Regions from separate parts of the Homo sapiens genome. Here all the other regions are linked to region 5. The links are contacts of gene promoters, found by promoter capture Hi-C in human tissues and cell types (Jung and others, 2019). All regions are on one chromosome and are shown on one strand. The core of a region is centred on a gene start or on the middle of the fragment in contact, and the rest is flanking DNA. Distances in the headings are between cores, read along the strand shown.

The links. The method cuts DNA at HindIII sites, captures the fragments that hold promoters and counts their contacts. A contact is called where the count stands out against the background at its distance.
Region 1: a contact is called between a fragment that was not itself captured here and the fragment with the promoter of GPC6 in region 5, in 1 of the 25 tissues and cell types used here (dorsolateral prefrontal cortex).
Region 2: a contact is called between a fragment that was not itself captured here and the fragment with the promoter of GPC6 in region 5, in 1 of the 25 tissues and cell types used here (mesenchymal stem cells).
Region 3: a contact is called between a fragment that was not itself captured here and the fragment with the promoter of GPC6 in region 5, in 1 of the 25 tissues and cell types used here (dorsolateral prefrontal cortex).
Region 4: a contact is called between a fragment that was not itself captured here and the fragment with the promoter of GPC6 in region 5, in 1 of the 25 tissues and cell types used here (lymphoblastoid cells).
Region 6: a contact is called between a fragment that was not itself captured here and the fragment with the promoter of GPC6 in region 5, in 1 of the 25 tissues and cell types used here (dorsolateral prefrontal cortex).
Region 7: a fragment that was not itself captured here is called in contact with the fragment with the promoter of GPC6 in region 5 in 1 of the 25 tissues and cell types used here (dorsolateral prefrontal cortex).

What each region holds. Positions count from the first base shown.
Region 1 is chr13:92,105,414-92,109,325 of GRCh38, reverse strand. All of the region lies in intron 6 of GPC5 (glypican 5), which reads right to left. Among named protein-coding and RNA genes, the nearest start is that of GPC5-AS2, 240 kb to the left of the region's middle. The HindIII fragment of the contact is 5,351 bases long and covers 1-3,912 here.
Region 2 is chr13:92,191,731-92,195,536 of GRCh38, reverse strand. All of the region lies in intron 7 of GPC5 (glypican 5), which reads right to left. Among named protein-coding and RNA genes, the nearest start is that of GPC5-AS2, 160 kb to the left of the region's middle. The HindIII fragment of the contact is 3,219 bases long and covers 921-3,806 here.
Region 3 is chr13:94,307,440-94,311,316 of GRCh38, reverse strand. All of the region lies in intron 6 of GPC6 (glypican 6), which reads right to left. Among named protein-coding and RNA genes, the nearest start is that of GPC6-AS1, 120 kb to the right of the region's middle. The HindIII fragment of the contact is 6,244 bases long and covers 1-3,877 here.
Region 4 is chr13:94,331,964-94,335,712 of GRCh38, reverse strand. The region is part of intron 6 of GPC6 (glypican 6); the gene reads right to left. Among named protein-coding and RNA genes, the nearest start is that of DCT, 150 kb to the left of the region's middle. The HindIII fragment of the contact is 7,041 bases long and covers 1-3,749 here.
Region 5 is chr13:93,225,549-93,229,315 of GRCh38, reverse strand. It overlaps GPC6 (glypican 6), which reads right to left and starts at 2,509. Exons shown (of 9, transcript NM_005708.5): 1 at 1,700-2,509. The coding sequence starts at 1,859. RefSeq lists a silencer at 726-1,020 and an enhancer at 1,074-1,916. The HindIII fragment of the contact is 15,285 bases long and covers 1-3,767 here.
Region 6 is chr13:94,402,020-94,405,596 of GRCh38, reverse strand. GPC6 (glypican 6) reads right to left here. Exons shown (of 9, transcript NM_005708.5): 9 at 1-2,582. The coding sequence ends at 2,380. Among named protein-coding and RNA genes, the nearest start is that of DCT, 76 kb to the left of the region's middle. The HindIII fragment of the contact is 3,353 bases long and covers 1-3,328 here.
Region 7 is chr13:92,173,845-92,177,605 of GRCh38, reverse strand. All of the region lies in intron 7 of GPC5 (glypican 5), which reads right to left. Among named protein-coding and RNA genes, the nearest start is that of GPC5-AS2, 180 kb to the left of the region's middle. The HindIII fragment of the contact is 3,014 bases long and covers 1-2,795 here.

The DNA.
Region 1 (3,912 bases), core at 130-2,629, 1.1 Mb after region 5:
GGAGGCCAAAGTAGGCAGATGACTTGAGTTCAGGAGTTTCAGACCAGCCTGGGCAACATGGCAAAACCCCATCTGCACAAAAAAAATAAAAAGGAACTGGGTGTGGTGGTGAGTGCCTGTAGTCCCAGCTACTTAGGAGGCTGAGATGGGAAGTTTGCCTGAGCCCAGGAGTTCAAGACTGCAGTGAGCCGAGATTGTGCCACTGCACTCCAGCCTGGGTGACACACTAAGACCCTGTCTCAAAAAAAAAAAAAAAAAAAAAAACCAACATATTGATACATACATAGAAGGCGCTACAAGAAAACAGCAAGGCAGCAAGATAAACATTTGAGAGCTGTGATTATGAGGGTCTGTTTGAGAAACCATGTGGAAAAGATGAACTAAGGAAGAATTTTTTATATTTCATAGTAGAGATGTACATTAGGAGTAATTTACATACGATGGCTATTACACTATTGATAATTAATGTTGAACAGGTAATCTTGGCAGGTCTAGAAGTGGCCTGGTGATACTGACAAGTATGATGCTATTAAAGGACAATAGAAACAGAGTAGGATGAGAGAAAAAAGTTCAAGAGGAGATCCAAAGTAGAAATATGTTTCTACATATAGATTTAGTTGAGTATTTACTACCACAGGAAATTTGTCTAGAATAGGATTGCGAATAGTCAACATGAGAGTCTCTGATCACATGTGAGGAAACAAATTTTAGTTGAATGCTAGAAATTAAAATTATTTTGTGGTGATTTACAGTTTATGTGGTGACAAAGCAAAGACAGTGATTGTAGAATATTCTAAGTTCTTCATTGCATGGAAGGGCTGACATGATAAGACACTGGAGCTCAAAGGCCTAGGGTAAAATCCCAGCCCTGCAGGCTCCTTTCTATATGGGAATGAGCCTAATGATTTCGCAGGGCATTAATTTTAATAATGTCTAATGGGAAAGATAATAATGCATTACTTGAAGTATGGTTTTCAGAATTAAATTACTGTCGATACATGTGAAAACAAGAGGTATCTAGAAAATCATAAGTCCTCTAAGGATATTTTTCATAAGTACCCTTTTATTACCCATCACGCAGTTGACATAATAAATTATAATATTCTTTACTGCTATGTATAATTATTGTTGATGTGGAGTTTTAGAATGAAGGAATTTCAAGAAAATATGTAAAGAACAAGGCAACAGAGCATAAGAGGTAACAGCTATGACAAAGGAAAGGATGACTAATGGAACAAAGTGGCTGGGTTGGAATACACAGGTCAGATGCAGGAATTAGCTCTGGAAAAAGGAGACTTCTCTCTTACTTTGAAATTGGAGGGAAGATTATATAATAGGTTAAGAGGGTGAAACTTTCTTATGGAGAAAAAGAGCAATTTGGACAAATTAGTATTGGATGGATTTAGGCAATTTAGAGAACAAATCTGCTCAGGCATTTTGTGGTGAGTCTCTGGTGATACTGGGTTTTTCTGAAAAGAGAAAATGGTTTAGAGCAGCATTTCTAGTAATGAGGTAGAGCTTGAGCAATGAAGTTGATTAAACCATTTGGTCAATGTGTTACATTTTATTCTGTACAGTGCCTTTATCTCTAAGCTTTAATGCTCACATATATGGGGTACACTGTAGGACCTGAAATATATTTTCTGTTTTTTAATCTATAAAATAATCCATACAGAGCAACAAATATTTCAGAGAAAGGCAAAAAATAATATTTTCTAGAATATTCTGTCTTCAATTATTGACAATTACAACTATCAAGTCTAAGACTAAAGAAACTCAAGGAAGTGCATATTAATTTCTCAGAGTAATATGCACAGTTTTTTAAAAAGTGGCCTTACATTATTCTGGAAGTAAGTCTGCAGGGTTATTAAGAACTCTTTCAAGTGCCCCAACACTGAGAAAAGTCGATGTTCCTTAATATTATAACCTAGGCATATCACAAGAAACTGTCCTAAAAATATACATGAGCTCAGAAATAATTTGTATTTACCAGGTATACTGCCAATTTGAATGAAAAAAAAAACTCAGCTGTTTTGATAAAAATAACAAACATGCCTAGGAATCATCTTCCTTGAAGGGAGAGAAGGGTCTTGTTGAACTTGAAAAAACTAAGCAAAGTTGGTAAGTCATAAGGGCATCCTTCTGTTTACCTATTCTTCACTTAATTTTAATTCATTTCTGACACTGTCACCAACTGAAAAACGGCCCAACTAAAAAAAACTTATAAAAGTGAGAAAAATTGTGTTCTATCCTAATCCAAGATATCTAAACCAATTTTACAGATAGGAAAATATATTAAGTGAATGATGTAAATACATTAATATAGGTAAAAACCCCTTTGAAAGTAAAGTTTGCACATAACATGAAATACAAAAAGAATTACTGTAGTCTCAAAGGAAGGAGAGAACCCGTGATGGTGAGTCAGAAAGGTGTATGAGCAAGTCATCTGTTGCAAGGTGATGGAAGGAAATTTTTATGCAGGCATTCAATATCAGAGTCAGAGGTTTTAATGATTTTTATCTTCAGAGTTGGAGACTAGAAGATCTGAAATAGGAAATTTTTGGCGTATCCATAGAGCGAATGGAAGCCTTGGCCAAAAACAATGTGCTACAACTCATGAAAATTAGCACACATGAACAATTACCTAAAGAGTTGCAGAAGATGGTACCTTTTCATTCGATTTTATGTGAACTCTTATTCTTCTCTTTTACGCTTTGTATCCTTGTTAACTCTTCCATTGTTTTCCTCAGCCTATAAGGTACTTTAAACATTTTATTGAACTCTAAGACAATTTTTATGATTCAATTCATATATAAAATTGTCTTAAGCATGTTTCGTGAGTGAAAAGTTCAATTTTTAAGGCTTATCAAGTGAAAACCCTCAGTTCAGCACTCATCATATCCAAAATCTATGTGTCATATAATTAAAATAAATATTTTCATACATGTAGCTCAAATGAGATTCTTATATTTTTCAAAATTTAACTCAATCTTTTATTTTTACAAATGTGCATATACTGCCTGTTTAAGTGCTTTACCTTTTTATTTATTCTTTGAAATTGGGGGTCCATCTTTTTTAGATTTTTAGGAGATCCTCACATATTTAAATGAGTTATTAAGTTGATACAACCATTTTGGAAAAATAATTATCATTATCTTCTAAATTTAAACACATAGATAACTTATGACAAACAGTTTCAACAGAAACACCTGAATGTCCATCAGCATAAAATGGATTGAAAAGCTCCATAATTAAACAGGGTGCTACACAAAATGAAAAGGAATGAATCACTGGTACATAACAAATAGATTTCACAAATGTAAGTTTAAGTGAAATAAGCCAGAAAAAGAAAACATAAATACTGTATTCTTCCATTTATATGAAGACCAAGGTAGGCAATATTAATATATGGTAACAGGTGAGACTGCCTTCTTTTTCTCAGCATTGAGAGCCCGAAAAAGATTTTTCTGGGGTGCTAAAAATGTGCCAGATCTTACAAATATTTGTACAAAAGATAATTTTTGTTTTATATATAGGTACAAAATACAAATATGCACAAAAAATGTATTTGTAAATATATGTTGAGCAATTAAGATTAATATATATAATTTATACTTCAATATAATTTTTTTCACTTTTGTTGACATCAGTAAACCATCTCACTTAATACACAGCCATTTGGAATGGTTCTTGATTTAGGTATTTCCTTGATTAAACACCAAGTAAGAACATACCTTGATTCTAAAATACAAAGAATATGATTCCATGAAAGATGAAAAGTATCTGGTATTCTAAAATATTTAAGAGAGTGCTTATTTTCAAGCTTCACTTTCCTATTTTAAACAAAAGTTGAACTAAATTACACATGAACTAGTCCTGAAAATATTCGGTAAATATCAAATGAAAGTGTGA
Region 2 (3,806 bases), core at 1,281-3,780, 1.0 Mb after region 5:
AAAAGCAGTTGATTTGGCCTCCAAAAAAATTTGGGTTTGAATCTGAGATTCAAATACTTGCCATACAGTAAGATCAATATACTGGTAATTTATTTGGAGCCAATACGCTCCTAACTCAAGGGGTTATTTTAAAGGTTAAATTAAATAATGACTATAAACCTAATAAAGATGACACACTTTGCACGGAGCTTGGCTTAATTCTTTTTTACTCCTCTTTTGTAAATTTATAATACCAGACGCTGATTAGGCCCTGTCTTGTTTAGTTTTAGGCACTGCACATATGTATCACTGAATTAAAAAGAACAACCACCACCACCGTTTTTTGGCTGTCTCTAGATTAGAGATCAAAACTATTTTATTGTATGAGAAAATGCATAGAGCTTAATATTGAATATTATAATGTTGATTTATCTTGAAGGGCCATGCAGTCTTAGTGGCTTGATTTTCAGATTCATTGTCAATTCTTATCGTTGGTTTCAATTTATGCCTTTCTAAAATATCTGTAATGTAATACAAACTCCACAAATCTACAGCAGAGATCTTTGACTGCTAATGCTTCTCTGATTTAAGGTTTAGAATTTCCAATGATAATTACCATAAAATAACCTTATTTTTTCCTGATAAAAGAAGTCTTTGAATTTGTGCTGTTAGCCATTCAATCATGACCCTAAAATCACTTTCCTTCTCACTCTACCTTAGATTACAAGGAAAGGCCTGAAAGACCATGTTGTTGGAGAAAGACCATTGGAAGTGAAATCTGATGGGGAGGCTAATACTAGGTCAGAAAGAGCCTAATATACACCCCCTGCTCATTCCTTTTACATTTCAGTTTTATTTTTCCTAGTCTACTCTCTGATGCATTTGAGAATACCTGCAGGCTGCAGCAAACTGAAACTGATTTCCAAATTCACAGAACACACTTACCTAGCTATGGCCATTATGTAATTTCTGAATGAGGATACTATTTTTCAGTGAGGAAATATGCAAAAGTATTATAAGACAGGTTTGTGGCAGTGAATGAACCTTGAACTTATAATCATGGCATCTCTGTAGCCTAGCACCTTTCAAAATTGCTCAGACAGGAGACTTGTTTTAACTGTTTTCTTTCTCATCTGCAAATAATGGATCCTAATATCTAGTCCACAGTGACGGTATTAGGATCAAGTGTGTTTTTATGAGGGAGAGCCTATGGCATGCATCACACACCTTCTGAACATTGTCATGTCCTGAGTGTTGCTCTGGAGTCGGAGGTACTCACTATTTGCATCCCAAGCACACAGGATGAACTGTGTGAATTCAGGCAAGGTGCTTAAACTCTCTGATCATCACCTTGTGTTTTGTTTTAGTTGTAAAATGAGGATAATAATCTGTACTTCATAAGGTTGTTATGAGAGTAAATTGCCATAAAGAAGTAATAGTACTTAAATGGACTCCATAAACTATGATAATTTCCATTATTCTTCCTCCCTTCTTTCCTTTCATTCGTATAACAAAGATGTATTAAGTTACTGTTGAGTTTCTGCTATTGGCCAGGCACTGAGTTCACCATGGTACTAAACACTGCAGATTCAAAAAGAATATTATTTCTCTTCCCCTTAAAATGTATATAGTTGGATAAGAAGAAATAAATAAGTAAAAATATAGCAGTACGTAATTACCTGTGCAACAAAAAGCTGTATGGAGTATAATGGGAACAAAGAATGGAGTGGTTAATCTTCTTGGCCAATAAAAGCCTCTTGAAAGAGAATGTAGTGTACATGTAATTTAATTAAGGAAGTATCAGAAAGGATGCAGGACTTCTGGGGCAGAGCCGAATGGGTGTAGCCACTTAGATCCTGCCCAAAGAGTGTCAACAATTCCTTAGCACACCAGTAGGAGTGAATATAACTGTCGGATTAATTTGTTTACAATGATAGGAAAATGGTTTAAGTTTACATTTCAGAGTTGAACTATAATCATTCTTAAGAGGTAGTTTTATCATTTTAATCAAATCTGGAGTTAAATAATTCTCTCTTGTCCATTATCCAATATAGGATTCTCTCATCTATTATCCAATATAGGAAACTCTCTGGGAATTCTCCTTTCCTGTTAGTTACATACACAAAATAAAGTGAATACTGTTACTCTTTCACAGTACTGGAGATATGGAGTTCAGAATTTGTATTGTTTCATAATATAAATGCAAATATGTATGCTATTTGATTCCATTTTGAGTTATGAACCAGTAAACTCTGCTTTTTTTATTGGAAAAAGAAAATATTTTATTTCAATGTAAAATTTTGTAGGCAGAAATTGAATTAATAATATTCTTGAAATTTCTACCTGAGCATAATATGCAATATATTTTTTATTATTTTTTTTTGAGACAGAGTCTCGCTCTGTCGCCCAGGCTGGAGTGCAGTGGCGCCATCTCGGCTCACTGCAACCTCCAGCATCCTGGTTTAAGCAATTCTCCTGCTTCAGCCTCCTGAGTAGCTGGGATTACAGGCACTCGCCAACACACCCAGCTAATTTTTGTATTTTTAGTAGAGATGGGATTTCACTATGTTGGCCAGGCTGGTCTCAAACTCCTGACCTTGTGATCCGCCCGCCTTGACCTCCCAAAGTGCTGGAATTATAGGCATGAGCCACAGCGCCTGGCAGCAATATGTTTTTAATAAATTCTCAGTAAATTTTTTTCAAATTATTTCAAATTTTAAAAAAAGTAATAATGAAAAATATGTGTATTTGTCATGCAAACATAATGGTATTAAACTTATTTGCTGTAAAGTATGTTCTACATTTCAGTAATCTGCAATCCCATACGTGGGCATAGACATAAAATTAATCTAAAATGAAAGCTTTTTAAATTATTCCCTTGTCAGCTAAAATTAATAAACACTGTTCTCTCCAATAGACATCTAATTTCATAATTACCAAATGCTTCAACTAAACAATACTTTTTTTCTCCACATTTAGAATTAAAAATAAACTCATATTGCTTTTTATAATTTTAAGACAATTTAGAAGAAAGAAATGTGAAAAAAGGAATGATCATTGTTATCACGCATTTATTTTTACTTACTAAACCTAGTCCATAAAATGTTGGATAATTTCCTTGAAAAATGAGCTCCATATGTATATATTAATTAATAAACTTTTAGAGCAGTTATATGTTCACAACAAAATTGAATGGAAAGTACAGAGTTCCTATATACTCCCAACCCCACTCGCACACCTTCCCCATTTATCAGTTTCCCCTGCGAGAGTGGTATATTTGTTTTAATAAATGAACCAACATTGACACATCATTATCATCCAAAGTATCAATTGACATTAGGGTTTGCTCTTGGTATTGTACGTTCTCTGAGTTTTGACAAATGTATAATAACAAGTATCAACCACTGTAGCTTCATACAGAATAGCTTCACCACCTTAAAAATTATTTGTCCTCTATCTATTCACCCCCTTCACCTCCTAACCCTTAGCAACGACTAATTTTTTCACTGTCACCATAATTTTTCCTTTTCCAGAATATTATATACAGACAGTCCCTAATTTACAATGGTTTGATTTGTAATTTCTTGATTTTACTGTGGTGCAGGAGCAATACACCTTCATTATGTTCTGTGACTTACAACGGGGTTGTGTCTGGATAAACCTACTGTAAATTAAAAATATCCTGAGTCAAAAATACACTTTCAACCTACAATATTTACAATTTACAATGAGCGTGCAATCCCATTTGGAAGCTGAGGAGCATTTTTAGTTAGAATTACAGAGTCTTGAGCCTTTCCAGACTGGCTTCATTCTTTTAGTAAGAGCAT
Region 3 (3,877 bases), core at 1,166-3,665, 1.1 Mb before region 5:
TGCACCTGTAATCCCAGCTACTCGGGAGGCCAAGGCAGGTGAATCACTTGAACCTGGGAGGTGGAAGAAGTAAGATTCCATCTCAAAAAAAAAAAAAAGTGTTATTAGCATGCAATGGTATTGTGGAAACCAGATTAGATAACTGATTATTTTGGTTGATATAGTCAAGTAAGATAGCCTGAGTGTTCTTGTCCTCAGCCCCATATTGGGGGTAATCTTTCAAGTAAAAAATATCCAATGTTCCCTCTCCAAATGCTCTGAATGCTCTGAAAGATATCAGGAAATTCAAGTAGAAAACGAAAAGCAAACAACCTATTTTTTAATCCCTTGAATTTTCTATGTCTCAGCTAATGGAAACATTAGCACCTTATGCATGAGGGCTGATGTTGGTTTGTTCTTATTAGCACAAGAAGAAAAAGGCCAATATATTCTAACAGGGAAGAGCTAGTTTTCCAGGCGGACTACGCATCGTCTGAACATTGGGACAGAATTTAAATCAGCCATTCGATGAGCTGGTCTTCCACCAAGATTAGATTGAAAACTTGGCCATTGGAAAAGAATATGAAAATGGTTGTTAACCATAAATCACAAGCAGAGAGGAAATGACTAAACAAGTTGGCTATGTGCAGTATTCAATCCACTCCAGATAATTTGGAAAGGGATAGTGGAGGAGGAATTTCTCAGGGACTCTCCGGAATGACTGTACAAAGACAAATGGGAATGAGAGGAAGAATAAGACCAATGCTTACACTATGCTGCATAGTCCGCCACACAGTCCTCTGGGAAGCAAGAGGAAAACAAATTTAAAGGAAAAAGAAAAAGAGATTATTCTATACATAATAGCACAGAACAGGCACAAAGTTGAGCTTTGTTGGTTGGCATTCCACCCATCCCCACCCCAAATTCCCTCAGAATGACCAGTAGGATATTTGAGAAATCCACATCCACAGTACAGTGTTGAATACTTACTGGAGATTTATGGCTCTAAGTCATCACCAACTTGTTGAGTTAATTTCCAAACCTGGCTTTTTTTTTAAATTTACTTTTATAAAATATATTCCTCTAAGATACACCATGCACAGTCCATTTTTACTCTAATGAATCAGCTGGAATAAAGTAACTGACACTCCCTGTCCAAGTGCGTCTGTGAGCTGTAGAACATGTTGTGCTCTAATTTTCTGAGCTGTACAACTAATTGCCTTTTACAGAGGCTAATTTGAAATACCTTTTGATGCTCAGATCTTAAAAATCGAGCTATTTTGTGCTGATTTATTTTTATACTTGACATTTCCAGTGAATTGGAACCGTCTTTTAAAAAATTATAGTTTCACATCAAATTATGTAAGAGAATTTGCAGAGTACACATTTAAGAATAAAGGAACATAACCAGTCTCTTCCTGAGTACAAACAATAATCTCTGGCCTGTTTGATTGAAAGTCATTAATAGTCAGCTAGGACAGAGGGGCTTCTAAGGGGAGTTTGTTGGTGACAAGAAAGCAACGTGATGGTAGGATGACTCTGTTAACTGAATTACTGCAGTTGATAACATTAGTATCCTCAACAAATCATGGCTGTTGGCGGTAGGGACTGCGATAGACTCAGATGAGTTGGCTTTCCATGAGCAGCTAAATTTATAAAAATACATTCACTCATTCTTGGATAACACAAACCACTTTAGGGTAGTATGTCTGAAAGCTTCTGACTACCTCAACTGCTTCTTATGTGTATATAACTTTAGAGGAGCAAATGGAAATGTTCCCTAGAGATACAAAAGAATTTATAAGTTCCTTATAAATATAATAAGATGTTAAATGATGGAACTGGTGTATTTTTTAAGAGAGAGTTTTGTTTTCAATTATTTTATATAAGGTATAGCAGCAGTTTACTCAGCTTGGGGTTGGTAGTTTTATTTTTAAAACAAACCCCATAACGACCAGTTCACATTAAAAAAATAGCTTTAGAATAACTGATATAAGAACATTTACCAACAGGGCCCAAAGTTATTACCACAGGTACTAATTTAAATGGCACTAAGAAGTAACTCTCCAAGTGCTTTATAGTTATTTTCATTTTGGCAAAAGGGGTGGGGTGATTGGAGTAGTGTTTTGATATCGTCCTTGGAAGCATTTTTCTGCTGAAACACTTCAAGAAATGAAGAGAAATCTTTTCCAATTATCCTCCTTTTCTCAGACACATGCTTCTTATAAATATTCAGGAAACATCTTTTCCAGGGAAAATTAAAACAGGAGTAGGTAATATGAGACTTGTTTATAAACAGCCTAAATAGGCTGTAATGGATGACAGGCCCATCTGGATAGTTTCGCAGTGCATCCTTCTTAAAGATGAGCGTGTTTGACTGTTGGACTGGAGTCTGGCCAAGGATAACTCCCCCAACTTTCCAGTGTTCAGAGCTATATTGGAACCCCAAAGGACGAAGGCCTCAGGAGAGCCAATGGCTGCTGAGACTCTGTTATTAGCTTTGGACCTAACTCGTGTCTCTCAGGAATAACCTCGGTATAGCTCCGTTTGATGCGCAAACAGTGCCTTGTTCTCAGGAGCTGAGCAAAGTGGGCTTATGGCTGGCTGTGCATTACACGTCACTAATTCTTACCATTTGGGAAGGGATCAGAATTTAATAAAAAAATCAGTAAAACTGCAATTTTCACTTACAGAGCCTGAAGCCACACCTTTGAGGAAGTAAATGCTACATGCTGTCTGAGAATGTTTTAGAATAAAATTGGCTTATTGATTTAAATACTTAGGCACAGAGTCTGGTCCTTGGCTTTTACTTGTGATGATACGTTTAACCATTACCAATCATTTTCAGAAAAAGATGGATAAAATATATTTTTGAGGGGTGCAAAAGGTAGAAGATTTTCATTCTGTTTGCTACTTGTCTATACTCTCGAGACCTTTATAGCTAGAGCATTTTGAACATTACCAATAAAGTTCCTTTATAAAAGGTTCAAATCTCAATTTTCATGTCCATCAGATTTTAAACACCAGAGAAAATTCTCGAAGTGTTGATGCTTTACTTAGTTTATGCTAAGCTGCAAAAACATTGTCTTTAGAAACATATTTTTCTTGCTCTACTTCCCCTGTTTAAGGGTGTGTGTTTATTTCTCCCGGGGATGAAGGAAAACGGCTTCTCTGTTTCAGAGGGAAAAAATTAATTAGTTGCCATACATATCATTATATTATTCAAATTCAGTGCAATTTTAACTAAGTGCAAAATGTACCCAGTTCTTTTAAAACTTCTTATTTTATTGTGGTAAGGATACTTAACATGACATCTACCCTCTTAACAGTTTTTTTTTAAGTGAACAATACACTATTGTTAGCTGCAGGCACAATGTAGTACCTCAGATCTTTAGAACTTATTCATCTCACACTGTACTCCTGTTCTTAAATTAGATTTTACAAAAATTCAGAAAAGACTGAATTGTTCCAATAACTAAGTTAGAGCCAGCAAAAATGGGAAAAAAGGGACCAAACCCATACTCACCATTTGTCCTCTGGTTAGAAAGATCTTGATATACAATGCAATTTGTAAAGTAAAATTTAAACAATATAATCTAATGAAAACCATCATTTCTTTAAAACAGCTGACTAGTTATTTGGTGGAATCTAATTGGTTGTTTAAAAGAAAAATGGTGACTATTTTTAAACTTTTCCTGAAACTGCAATAGAGAATAGATGTAAGCCGCTGAGCACGTTGGCTCATGCCTGTAATCCCAGCACTTTGGGAGGTCGAGGCAGGTGGATTGCTTGAGCTCAAGAGTTCGAGACCAGCCTGGACAACATGGCAAAACCACGCCTCTACAAAAAAATAAAAAGCTGGGCATGGTGGTGTATGCCTGTGGTCTCAGCTACTCAG
Region 4 (3,749 bases), core at 97-2,596, 1.1 Mb before region 5:
CACACATATAAAACAACAGATAGCTTGCAAAGTGTCTTGGTTTTCTTCTCACAAGAACTCAAGAATCAACCCACTGTTTGTTAGATCCTGATTCTTTCAGGATTGTATATTCATTCTAAAACAGTGTTTAAGGGACATTTTATGGCAACTATTTATCCTACTAGATGTCAAACCTAAAAGACTGTAAATTTGCCTCTGAAGTGTCCCAGATTGTCTAAGGAACAAATTATGTGTGTTATTCGTAAAGGTCTCTGGACCTTTTTGAATATGTTTGTGATTGTACCTGATACTACTTCTTGGCAAGGATTATATATCAAGGTGTACCACCCAGTGTGGCTCGGAGACTCCTGGAAAAAGATCCCAGGAGGATACATGGTTTACTTTGTCTACTTCCTATAAGGGTTTGTGGACATTCAGCATATCCTATCCACCTTAATTTGAAAGGCTTTTTCCTGCTTTCATATGGTAGTATCCTCTCTATCACCTTATCTCCATAGGGACTTCTTTCTGATCCTGTTTTCTTCCCTTTATAGCGTTGTTGCCCTCCAGAGGGCCAGAACCACCATGGTTTTGGTAAGGATAAGACAACTCACTCTTAAGTACTTTCTAGATTATGCTTAGTAGTAACCCTTTGGGCCGCAGCACACTCCTGGACTGAGAGTCATGGACCAAGCCCATGAGTAATAACTGCATGTACTTCTACCTCTGAAGGGTTAGTTACAATCACAATAAATAGTTGCATTTGCATGGTGTCTAATAGTTTGACTGCCTTCACATACCTTTAATCACCCAATCACCATCAATTAGCTATAAATTAGGTATAACTATTAATATTACTCTTTTTATAGATGAAGACTCTGGGGCTTAGGGAGGGGAAGTAAAGGGCAGAGCTTAAAGCTGGATTTCCGATGGAAGGTCCAGGGCTGGCTCTAGAACATTACGCCTGATGTGCTCAGGAAGACACTCAAGCAAGGGCTCTGGGGCTGAATCCTTATTTTCTAGGTCCCAGACTTGTGCTTCTCAAACTGGGTTGTGCTTTGGCACCACCTGGAGGGCTTGTTAACACAATTTTGGGGCCCCACTTGGAGTTTCAGTTTCCGTAGGTCTGGAATGGGGCTTGAGAACTCGATGTCTAACAAGTTGCCAGGGAATGCTGATGCTGTTGTCCCAGGAACCATAATGAGAAGGCCACTGTTTCAGAATCTAGGACAGTGGTCCTCCATCTTACTTTTACACTAGAATTTCATGGCATGCTTTAAACATCTATATTGATACCTGCACTCTACTTTAGAAAGATTTGGTTATTGTAGAGAAGAATCAGGGGGCACTGGTATTTTCTGCTGTTCCCCAGGTGGTTGTAATGTACAGCTGAGGTTGGAAGTCACTGTTTTAAGGCAGGAGCCAGCAAACAGTGGTCTCCAGCTGGCTGCTGCTTTGTAAATAAACGTTAGTGAAGCACAGCCATGCTCATGTGTTTATGCATTGTCCATGGCTGCGTTCAAGATAAAAATGTCAGAGTTGAATGGCTGTGACAGAGACCACTGGGTTGCAAAGTCTAACATATTCACCCTCTGGCTCTTTCTAGGTAATAAAACAATATAGAGGGAACTACAGAAGATACCCTATACCTTCCAAGTTTCAATATATCTTTCCAAATCTTGATAAAGGCAATGTGGGGAGCATCAGAAAACAGAAAGAGGGTGAGCTCTTCTATAAGGGGCTTGACTCAAAGTTGTCATTTCATTTTTTTAAAATGACCTTTCTCTCTCCTTCTCTGCTCTCTGTACACCCATTCTCCTTTCCCACCATCTTAATAGTTTCTCCATCCTAATAGTTGCACAGGCTTCTCCATCATGCATTTGGACTCAGCTTCACTGGCTATCTTCATTGCATGCTCCCCTACACATGAGCAGCCTGTTGCAGTGGAAAGGGAATGGTAATTGGAGTCAGAGGATCCGAACTTGAATCCTACCTCTGCTACTTAGTTGTGCAATCCCAGGGAAACATACTTAGCTTCCATGGACCTCAGTTTCCTGACTAGCAAGACAGAGAATGCCCTACTCTTAGGGTTATTGCAGGGATTAAGACAGATGACTTGAAGTGCATTGCAAAACTGCCCAATGTCTTACACATTTCATTTACTAATTTGGCCATAAGTTCTCAGGAAAATGTACAAAGTGCAACTAAAGGACAATGCATTGATGTATTGATTTCCTTTTAGGATTCACCAGGAAGGGATAGGAACTGTACCTCTTCTAAAATTGGGTTTATCTTAGTTTGACAAGAGGGGAAAAATGCAAACTTTCTTAAGCCGCTGTTTTTATGACTTACTGGAATCCCAGGATTAGCACAGAGAGCCTGCACACTCAGATGCTGACCATAAGATGCCGTACAGCACTGGCCATTAGTGAGATTTATGGCCATGACTGCATCTAATGCATAATCTGGAAAAGGGCAAAATATGAGTTGAGAAACTATCTTTACCTAAAACTTCAAAGTTAGAAATGAAGTGGAAGAAATTTATAGTAAAAAATTAAGGGACGCCCTGAGTATTTCACAGCTAACTTAGGTGGCTCACAAGACTTCCTGGCTCAGCACTATATTAAGAGGGTAATGTATACCGATATTAATTCATAAAGCAGATGAAGACCCTGGAATCCTTTCCCATCCCTGATGCACAGACCAATTTCATCTCTAAATCCCTCATCTATCGCCCCTGGGAAAATCCTGTCATGTACAGAATCCTCGCAATGATTTCCAGAAACTTCATGTAAACATACAGAGAAAAGAAAATGTTAACCTCTCTCATAACTCACAGGCAGTGGCCAAAGAGAAAAGTGTCTTTCTTGTAAACAGAGATCCTCACATCTGTTACTTCTCTTGCAATCTCCTGACATCAAATTCGCTCATAGCAAAACTCATTACTGGTCAATTCAGTGAAAACCACCAAACTGATTTTGTTTATAAAAAATTCCAGAACATTACAGGAAACAAAAACCTTTTCGAAAATAATCTATTTCTTGCAACAATTCGACACAACGGCATTATTATTTCTATGAAACTATCATAAGATTTTAAATCACATGTTTTGAGCTCTACTCAGAAGGCAGATTAGCTGCATTTTGGTATCTCCATGCCAGAGACCAACGGCTGAGCCAGCCCCACACCAGAGAGAATAAACTGGCAACAAAAACTATGTACAGAGACATTAGGCAAAGACTTCGCATTTTCCATTTTGATAAAAACTTGCAAAATGGAACAGCAAGAATATAATTTGAGCAATCCGTCAGACCCAAGACTGCTAGTATCTTTCTTTTGTTCTTTTATTCCCCCTACTTGGAACTTTCACAATTTATCACATTGCAGATCTAGGAGCACCATTTGAATAAGATTAGGTGATGGCTAATTACTACAGTTCAGCTGAATCCAGCTGCCATCCATGGGCCTTGTTAAAGCCCCCAGTGACCAACTTCTTGGCCTCATAAGCACTTATTGGAAGAAACCAAAGCCAAAAAAGGATGAGAAAAGGGGCCCAAAAGAATTATAAAAGAAAAAATTAAATTTTTGAATATCGGGTAATAGTCAAAGGAATGTCCAGTTTCTAGAACCTGTTCGGGGAGATTCTTCCAGCCTGCTCTTATCCACCTCTCCCTTCTTTAATTCCTGTTGCACAAAGCATTACTGCCTCATAGTTTGCAATGACTGAGACTCAGATGGAGAACAGAAATAAAATCTTACATGACTTTAGA
Region 5 (3,767 bases), core at 1,260-3,759:
AGAAGAAGTGATCCATACTATAAACCTTTTAAAAAGTTGAATTCCCTGAGATTTGGGGAGGGAAAAAAAAAAGCGAAGCTGATCCTTATCAATTAATTAAAAAGAATGAAATAACAGTAGACAAAGGAGAAGGAGAGTTAAGAAACTTAAGGAGCTGTGGGGACAGTCGCTCTCTATTCATTGATTAACAAATTAAGGAGTTCTGGAAAAGAAGGAAGAAGTAACAAGGATAGAAAAGTAGGCTTATAATTCACCACAGATTCTAACTTAGACTCAGCAAAGGGAATGTCTGGCTCTGAACTGAAAAAGCTCCTTCTATATAATGAGCGTGGTAATTTGCGCCTCTTTTTTTCCCCCTTTGCCAATGCTCAAATTTATTTAAATGTGTTCATTTCAGTGTAAGTAAAAACCCTCACTTCTACAGCTTGAAAATCATAAGAAAATAGTAATTCCTCAACGTATCGAAACTGTGATGTTCTAAGATATCTGCAAAATGCTTTTCATCCATCCACCAGTTATTTGGCAAAAAGCAGACAGAGGCTGGTGGAAATTCAGCGTTTTGACTTGACGATCTGAGGTCACTAAGGACTTCAGCTGCCCGGTTTGAGCAGCCCGCGCCCTCGCAGCATCTCCTGGCCTCCCTCGGCCTCTCTCAGTTCTGTTCTTTAGCAGCCAAAGGATTATCTCTCCCCGACACGTTTCATTCACAGAGCCCCAGAGAAGCTCGGATTCGGTTGGAGCTAAGAGCCGGAAAACAAGCACCCAGACTGCCGCGCAAGTTGTCGGAGACCAAGTGCTACACACACTGGCGCCGAGAGAAAGGGTGGGCGCTCTCAAGCTCTTGGTGGAGCAATGCCAGTGGCCGGGCATGCGGGGGACACGGGGCCCCCGAACCCGGACCCGAATCCCCAGCTGAGCCACCCGCTAAAGTTGGCTGTTCGCTGGCAGACGAGGCCGGCTCCAGACCGGGTGGCAGGGTGTCCCCGGGCCCTGAGTGGCCAACAGCAACTGGGGAAGCACTGAGGAACCCTAACGGGAAAGCCCGCCCCACATCTGAAACAGGCAGCCCGTGAAGTCCCCAAACCAGCCTTGAAACGCCGGCGTCCAGAGGCCAGGTCCCCGGCGAGGGTCCCTCCCAGCCTTGCCCGCCCCCGGCCCGAGCGCCGGGCGCTCTGTCGCCCGAAGGACGGATAGGGGAGAGAGGGGCTGGGGGAGCCCTCCGCGTCTCTCCACCGCCCCTGCCGGCGCAAGGGCGGGAGTGGAGAAGGCGCCACTCAGACTGTGGCGCTGGGCAAACTGCGGTCGCAGTTCTTCCAAGTTTGCCCGAACCAGAACGCGGAGTGAGCGCCCGGCTCGGCTCTCCGTCTGCGCCTTGCAGCCGCCCCGGAGTGACCCGGGCTCCCTGGCCAGCCGGGCCTGAGCCATCAACTAAGGGGTAGAAGGGCGCGAGAGCAGCGGGAGGCGGGAGCCAGGGTGCTCCCGCGTGTGCACACAATGAGGCGGCGGAGACGCACACCTTCCCCCGCCGAAGAAGCCGCAGGAGCATCCGCCGCCCAACACGGAGACGCGGAGTCCCATAGCGGTGGCAGAAAGTGAGCACCAACTCAGCAACAGGGGGAAGGAAGGGGACGCCGGGCGGCCAGTGGGACGTGCGGCAGCCGAGGGCTGCAGCCTGCCCCTGCAGCGCGCCCGCGCTTACCTGCGATCTCCTGGTAGGGGATGTCCGCCAGGCTGAATCCCTTGGCACCGTACGCCTGGCGGACCTCTCCGCAGCTCCGAGCCTTCACATCCGCCCCGGCGGGGAGGGAGAGCAGCAGCCCCAAGAGGGGAAGAATCACAGCCCCGATCCAAGAAGGCATGGTGCAACATACAAATCCAGCTCGGTAAACCCCACGGCCGGTGCGCTCTTCACCTTGCCCCTCAAGCCGAAAGCCCGCCAGAGGCAGCGGCGCGCTCCTCGCCGCTGCCCAGCGTCACCCCCTTCTGCCAGCCGAGGGGACGAGCAGCGCAGCCCTCTGGACTGCGCTCAGCAAACTTTTATAAGCCAGATGGACGATGGCAAGCCAACAAGGGCTGGCTGGGAAGGCTGCTGCCTTGCTCCTCTAGCCCCCAGATGGAAACGGTGCAATCAAAACGAGGAAGAGAAGGAAAAGAAGTGTTTAAAAAACCACCATGGGGGTTCAGAGCTGCAATCCGAGTTCCGAGCCGCAGAATCCTGGAGCGCTGCGGGCTCGGCTCGCCGGAGTGTGCGGCAAAGGTGGGAGCGCGCGCCGGCTCCCCCGGGAGGGAGATGGACAAGCGAGAGCGAGTGTGTATGCGCGCGTGTGTCTGTTGGTGTGAGCTCGAGGTTCTTGGGGATGTGTGTGCGTGGAGGTATGTGTTGGGGATATACGAGATCTAGGGGAAACCTCAGCTTAACACAGGCTGTGGGAGCCTGTGAGAGTCCTCCTGAAATAGGAAGAGAGAAATCCTGGAGACAGTCACTGGAGGCAAGAGGGAAGGAGAAAGGAGGGGGGAGAAAGAAACGTGCTACACATTGCACAGCCGAAATTCACAGGCCGAGTCAAAGGCAAAACCTGGACTGGATCTCTTCCTAGTCGGTAGAAAGGGGAAAAAAAGAAAAAGAAACGTACCTATTTTCTTATTCACTTCACATCCTTTATACCGATCTGAAATGACATCAATAAACAATCTAGAAAGACAAGGTAATTTTAAGTCATTAACATGTTATTAAGCTGTATTTTTATGGAGGTAAAGGATAACGCAGTTCCAATTGTTGCTCTTAATATGTGTCCCTGACCTACTGAAACACAAAGCCAGAGTGGAAATAGTCATAGACGGGAGTTCATGGGTGGCAGAGCACAATCACGGCTCTAACTAGTTGCCTAATTTCTGTTTGACTTTGTTTTTTTCTAAAGGCACACATTACAGACTGGTAGTTCTTAATTTTTAAAGGTTTGGTTCTAGACTCAACAATTTCCCCTTTTTTTATTTCAAATATCTCATAGCCTTCGATCAGAAATCATTATGCTTAGGTTTCTAATGTGTGGAGGATCGGGAAAGCTAACAACCAGACCACAGAAGCAACAAGAAAAGGAGAGCACAAGGGTCAGAGGTGCATAAAGGGACATAATGGGGGAAGGGAGGTGATTCCTTCCCTCTCACTAGATGCCCTCACATAGTAGACTTAACATTTTCTTCCAAGTTAACATAATTCTCAAGTGGAGAATCAATCCAATTTCTTCTTCCTGTCTCCATTTACACTGATGTTCTGTGAACGGGATAAAAGTGAAAATTCAGGTTTGCCTAATTGACTTTGTTATGCTAATGGACGCACTAAAGTCAGCTGGCAGAAGTGTGTGTTGAAACCCAGAGCTCCTGAAACTACTAAGATAGTTTAATGAAAACCAAGACAAAATAATAATAATAATAGTGTTTATTCACTTACGTGGCTATGTGTCATAGGTCAGCACATTATTCACAAACTACTACAAGGTAATGCACAGTTTTGTGGAGCTCACCTATGAAGCTACACATGAAGATGTTTTCCTGATGATGATATGAATGACCAGAATGACTCATGAAGTTTAAATCTTTGAGTTTGTCATTATCATCACAACATATTAGGTACATTGTCTTCCTCTCTTTAATAAATTCCCCCTCTCCTAACCACCAAAAAGACTCTCAAGATTCAACCTCATTTAACCTTTCCAAACGCTTTAAAAATGAAGTCGACTTATTTACAGAGCCACTTTGTCTTCTTCAAA
Region 6 (3,577 bases), core at 403-2,902, 1.2 Mb before region 5:
ATGCACAAAACCTTTTGGGGGTGAAAGCACAGGAAAAACAAGGCATCCTGATCTAGTTCATAAAAGAGAATGCAGAAATATTTTAAAAAGGAAAGACCTGGAGTTTAAAGCCATAAAAGCAAGTTATTATTCAAATAGTCTGGAAAATCAAGGTTGATTTAATTTGTATTGCACCTTAATTATTGGAGAAAGACAATACTGACTTCTGAACACAGAATGAAATGAGCAATGTAAATGACTGGTCCTTCATAGAGAAGTCTTATGTGGAATTTGTGGTAGGAAGCCAAAATGTGGGCAGTGAAATGGATGGTTTTCTAGGAGTATGTAATGATGAACTAGATGGTTAATTTCATAAAGGTTTAAATGAAAGAATGCCACAAAGTCTCTCATCATCCTACATTTTATATTTCATTAGGCATAAAGTAGCAATAGATGCTTGTAAATACTTTCTGTCTTGCAAAAGTGCTCAAATATACTTAATACTATTGTGCCACATGTGTTCTACTTAAATGTGATGACTAAATCAATAACTAATTTTAATTTTGATGAGAACAGATTGAAAAATACCATTTACGTGTCAATACTGTCGATGAGTTAATTAAAATGTAACTGGCCTACTATGGTGTCTTGAAACATTACTTTTCCCTACTCCAGATGCATCATAAAAACTAAGAAACATATGGATAGCCAACTGTATTCATAAAGCCCCCAGTTGGGTTTATTTTGCTTCTCTCTGTCAGGGGGAGCGAAAGGCCTGGCTTTGGCCTACTTGGTGAACAGGTTAGGCTGTGGCTCTAAACTGGCCTATTGAGTTAGGTAATGTATCCAAGTGCCAGGCAGGAATCCTAGGCCGAAGGTGTTTTACATGAAAGCAATGGTTTTTCATGAATAACATTCTTTACACATACAGTTTCCATCACCGGTAAAGCCCTGCACACCAATGGCTCATCCCATGAGTTTGGTGTAGTCTGGAGCACCCAGGCTGAAGCACACTCATGCAGAAGGGTGTGCCCTGGCAAATTTTTAATAAATGGACAGTTAGATACATAAAAAGTTCTCTTTCTTGATTCTTGGTGCTCACCGATCACTGAGGAATCCCTTCTTTGAGCAGCACAAAACAAGAAGAGCTGGTTGACAAAACATTTTCTTACAAAGGTGTGTCAACCCTGAGCTTGGAATTAAGAAGTTAAAATCTGTGATTTATATATACATAGATATAAAAATAGATGATCATACTAAGACTAAAAAAGTGAAAGAAATCTCCATGTCAATACTATATATATATATTTTTTGTCTTGACTTTTTTTTTCTGTTGTGAGTTGTTTTGTAAGAGAATGCCCTTGTGATGCAGAAACCAACTGACACAAAGTAAATAGTTAAAAATGAAAACTCAGGAATGGATCTAATTGTGTTTCAATTCATTAAAAAAACTATTGTTTTGGGAGGGTAATGAGCACAGGGGCAGAAACGTCTAGTTAATGTCAAACCTGTGGCAAAAGCAGAGATTGTATCATCAAAGATTATTTTCAATTGAGACTCTTGAGGAAGGTGAATTGATGGGGGTAGCTACTAGTAATTGAAGATGAAGGGGAAAATCTGTGCCAATTGGATACAGCGGACAGACATTAAGGGAATTAAGAATAATGGTGCCATTACTAAATTGAAATTGGGCAGAGTAAGACAGAGGTACTGAGTTGTAGTAATTTGTGTTCTCATATTAAAGACGGGATTCCAAATTTAGTATCAGTACCTCCAGATTAATTTGGTGTTGTTTGGTTAGAGTGCAAGATGATACCTCCAAGACAACAGTGCATTTTCACTACATTTAGAACAAACTTTAAGCTTTCTCCCCATAAGCATTTTTAAACCCGGATTTGTCACAAAAAAGCTTACACTGGAAGTTGGCTGTCAATGCTGAACTTACAGTGTTAAAGTTCATTTATTTTTCTCTGTTTGCTTTTTTGTTGAAAATGTAGCTGTCTTGGGGTTTGGCCCGATTTTACAAGGAAAATTATTTTCTTTCTTCCTTTTTTATTTTAAATGAGAAAAAAAAAACCCTCACAACGTGAGATTCCTTTACTTCTGCAGCATAAAAGCAAATGAAGGTAAGAAAATCTCCTGGTACGAAAAATTTGAGTAAGAATTCTCTCTAGAATAAACAAGGTCCCCACAGATAGCTGAAGGAAAGAGGAAGCAGTTCAGTCTGGCACCCGGTACTCTTTGGGAAAACAAAAAGGGAGGCAGATTGCATTACTGCTCTCTTCTCATAGAAAACGGTAAGTTTTTGTGGCATGGTCCATTGTCCAAGAGTGTAAGAAAAGAAGTGAGTTGGCCATTCAGATAGCTAAAATGCAGTTTCATCTGACCAAAAACCCAAGATTATCTGCACAGTCTCTGCAGTGCCAGGACAATGCAGGTGAGAGACCAGGAGAGCAGGGAGTGGCCACGCTGGGCTGCAGAAGAGTCCACCTCTCTCCGGTCGGGATCCACTGCGGGGGCCTCTGTGGTGACAAACTCAAACTCCGTGGGACACACGTCATCCATGCACCCACTGCCACTCCCTGAGCCACTGGATTCATCACCTAGTGTGGAAAGATTGAAAAAGAAAGTTAGACCACTGATATGTTTAGGCTTTGTGGCCCCACCCAAATCTCATCTTGAATTGTAATCCCCATAATCCCCACCTGTCAGGGGAGAGGCCATGTGGAGGTAATTCAATCATGGTGGTGGTTTCCCCCATCCTGTTCTCGTGATAGTGAGTGAGTTCTCACGAGATCTGATGGTTTTTTAAGGGGCTCTTCCCCCACGGCTTGGCACTTCTCTTTCCTGTCACCTTGTGAAGAAGGTCTTTTGCTTCCCCTTCGCCTTCCACCATGATTGTAATTTTCCTGAGGCCTCCCCAGCCATGCTGAACTGTGAGTTAATTAACCACTTTCCTTTATAAATTACCCAGTCTCGGGCAGTTCTTTATAGCAGTATGAAAACGGACTAATACAACCAACCAGGAAAGAGTGGAAACAGAGCTCAGCAGATATGGGGCATGGTGGTGGGAGGCAAAATCTCCCCATCCATGGTCCCCCACCCTACCCAACAGGATTGTTTTTAATAGGCAGTGGTGTGATGAGTGGGTGGACTGTACAGAAATAGGTGTTTGAAGAACAATATCAACTGATACCTGAGTTATGCAACCCAAGGAATGTGTGAACCCCAGACTCAAGGGGAGGCCACACCTACCATGTTGGCCTTAGACATTTCTTCTGGCCAGTACTTAAGTTTAAGAAATTCCATTCTTTGCTCTTTTTATACTCAGAGCCATTGCTCTAGGAAGATACCATGCTTTTTAAAGGATTTTAAAAGAAAAATAGAGGAAAACAAGTTCTACAAATAGGAAATGAGAGGAGCAGCAGCAATAGTAGTGAGAGGTCTCTATCAATATGACTTTTGTCCACCTTTTCCCCACCTGTGTTCTCCTGAGAGCAAGGCTGGACTCTGTCCCAGCCAGCTTGTCCCTTTAAACCAGAAGTTGACAAACTATGACCTGCTGCTTGCTTTTGTATGGTCCATAACTCCAAAATGG
Region 7 (3,761 bases), core at 39-2,538, 1.1 Mb after region 5:
GTGCATATCTGATCTAGGTTATTCTGAAGAACACAAAAAACATACTAGTGGCTATTCTGTTATTAGAATATAAAAGAGCAAAAAAGAGCTTTATAAGGTTGAGATGTAAGTAATTTGTATAATTATAAAAATATAAAAATTATATGAAGGTACATATTTGAAATCATTGGAAAGATCAACTTTCCATCAAGATAGGTTAATCATTTGAAATAAGGAAAGTGAGATGGGATACGCTAACACACCTTTGAAAATATAATCCACATAATTTAAGGCATTGTCATTACATTAACAGTGAAGATGCAGAAGCCCAGCAGATATGATGAAAGTCAGACAAGGGGAAGATGCTCAGGTTGCCAGAGGCTAGACTGGCTTAAGGGGCTAGAAAACAACATGTTCTGATACAAGTTGAGATGCCGTGTAAAAGCCAGAAAGCTTGTGGTTTTCAGAAGCCAGGGGTCTGTAAGCCAAGAAGTTAACTGAGATGCAAAACAACAAGCTGGTGACAACAACGGGTATCCAAAATCCAAAAAGGCAGATCAATCAAAACAATGATGGAAATAAGGGTATCCAAAATCCAAAAAGATAGATCAGTCAAAACAATGACGGAAATAGCAAAAGATGGGAGGTCATGTCTGGCTTGTTTACAACTATAGCATAGTGGCAGGGTGAAGCAGTGCCTGTTATATCATTGGTAGTTAATGACTGATGAAGGGATAAATAGATGGAGAATTGAATTATCCAGCTGTAGATACAGTATGTAAAGAAGCAGTGTATACCTAGGTCTCCAGTAAAGGTAAAGTGGTGCCTGGTAGTGTGCTGGAAATCAGTAAACTAGGGGCTGAGAAGTGCTTGGATGTGGCCGTTGAGGTGAGGAACCACTGGGCCTAGCTCCAGGCACTCTGGAGGGAGGTTCAAAAATGGTGGGATTAGGAATCTGGGGAAGGTTGGAGGTCAGATGGAGAGAAACGGAAAGGGAGGTCTTAGAAATCTAAAAGCCATTGAGACAAAGGAAAATCAGAATCCAAAGCTTTGATGCCTTGGGTCAAACCCTTCATTTATTTTTTTTCAAATGAGCATTAGCTATTGGTTGTTAGAAGATGCAGACAGGTGCCCCTGGTCTGTTGTTGAGGTTGAACCTTATCTAACTTAGTGTGCTGTGTACCCAGTGGTTAGGAGCATAAATGCAAAGAAAACACAAACCACCACTTACTTCTCGTCCTTGTCCCAGTCTCAGTGCCTGGAGAGATGAATGTTGCAGTGTGACAGGAAGCTGTCTTGAGACACAAGGGCTACCTCATGAAAGGTATGTACTTTATCCAGGGAGAGCCTTAGCATACAACAGAACTCCTTAAGGTGTAGTCTCTGGATAAGCAGTGCCATCATCATCTGAGCATTTTTTGGTAATTCAGAGTCACCGGCTCCATCCTAGACTTACTGAATTAGAAATTCTGGGGTTGTGGACAGTAATTTGTATTTTCTAAAGTCCTTCACGATATATGGTGATTCTGATGCACATTAAAATTTGAGAACCACTGTCTTAGAGGAAAACAAACACTAGCAATGGGTAAGGAGCAAACTTCATGATAATGGTAAAGCATGTTTCTGGCTAGATATAGATAAATGGAAACAAACATACAGAGTCACCATTGAATCTGAAACCTAAAAAGTAGGAACAGAGCTTCCAGGATTCTGTATCTGAGATTCTTCTATATGAGGAGACAGGTTTGAAAACTACTATTAAATTGGTAACGGGGTCTTGTATTTAGCCTCTAAAGAGATAAATGTGCCTGGCTGTAGGGAGATGTTTTTTTTTTCTTTGAGGAATATCACATATTTGCAAGGGCAATAGTTAGGTTTCACACTTGCTAATATAAAAAGATTTCTAATTATAATTGCTCACAGTGTTACAGTTAATAAAGAACAGAATAGGTTAAAGAGAAGTCTGAGTTTTTTTAAGTGACTTTTCTAAACTATAAAGTACTAAGCCCACAAGCCCCATCTAGTGGCCTCTGTACCAAGAGTTCAGTAAACGTTTCCAAAGGGGCGCCCACCAACTTTAGAACCGCAGATAAAACTGAAAGCAATTCAGCTCTTAGATAGCTGGACTACAGCAGTAGGCATCACAGTGATGTCATCATAACCTCCTATTCAAATGTTCTTCAACTTTATTAGAACGCACTACTAAATTTTGACATAATCTAGAATCAGAAAAGAAGCAAACACTTATTGAATTCCAATTAGGTGTCAAGCCCTATTTAGATGCTTTTATATATGTATAGATACAAAATATGGTATAGATGTAAACATAACTATAGCTAGATATCGATAAACAGAAACAAACATACAGGGTCACCATTAAATCTGAAAACAGGTTAATAAATATATGTTTCACTAATATGCCAACATATAATAAAATAATGTTTCCAGAAATTCTAATGAAAAAATCAAAGTTCGGCCAGGCACAGTGGCTCACGCCTGTAATCCCAGCACTTTGGGTGGCCAAGGCGGGTTGATCACCTGAGGTCGGGAGTTTGAGAACAGCCTGACCAACATGGAGAAACCCCGTCTCTACTAAAACTACAAAAAAATTTAGCAGGACGTGGTGGCGCATCCCTGTAACCCCAGCTACTCGGGAGGCTGAGACAGGAGAATCGCTTGAACCCAGAAGGCAGAGGTTGCGATGAGCTGAGAAGGGGCCACTGCACTCCAGCCTGGGCTATAAGAGCGAAACTCTGTCTCAAAAATGAAGGTTCAAGGGAGGACTTTTCGAAGTCTCACAGTGTGTTATTTTAATGGTACTCTGCACTTTACGATAACATTTTAAATTCTATGACATCGCTATTTGTTTTTTCTTCTGCACACTATTTTAACCTTGAGGAATAGAACCGTATTTTTGACTAATCTGTTTTTTATTCCTGATGCCCAGCAAGGTGCTCAATAAAGTGATTAATACTTTTTGCTGTTTTTAAGTAAAGAAGTGTATAGGTGGATAAATGTATGAATGAAGTAATGAGTTATTTAAATTTTGTTTTTTTTGTTGTTGTTGTTGTTTTTGTTTTTTTTTTTTCTTTGAGTTGGAATCTCGCTCTGTCGCCTAGGCTGGAATGCAGTGGTGCGATCTCTGCGCACTGCAAGCCCCGCCTCCCGGGTTCACGCGGTTCTCCTGCCTCAGCCTCCCGAGTAGCTGGGAATACAGATGCCCGCCACCACACCCGGCCATTTTTTTTTGTTTTTTTTTTTGTGTTTTTAGTAGAGACAGGGTTTCACCGTGTTAGCCAGGATGGTCTCAATTTCCTGACCTCGTGATCCACCTGTCTCGGCCTCCCAAAGCGCTGGAATCACAGGTGTGAGCCACCACACCCGGCCCAAATTTTGGCCTTTCTATTTAATATATACATGAAATAAATATACATAGACACATATTTTTTTAATGACGTAAAGATGACTTTTATCAGCAAGCCTAAGAATATCCAAAGATGTCTTTTCTTTTCCTTTCTTTTTGACGGGGTCTCTCACTCAGTCACCCAGGCTAGAGTGCAGTGGTTTCACCTTGGCTCACTGAAACCTCTGTCTCCTGGACTCAAGTGATCCTCCCACCTCAACTTCCTCAGTAGCTGGGACTACAGGTGGGTGCCACCACACCCAACTAATTTTTGTATTTTTAGTAGACATGGGGTTTCACCACGTTGGCCAGGCTTGTCTCAAACTCCTGACCTCAAGTGATCCACCTTCCTCGGCTTCCCAAAGTGCTGGGAATTAGG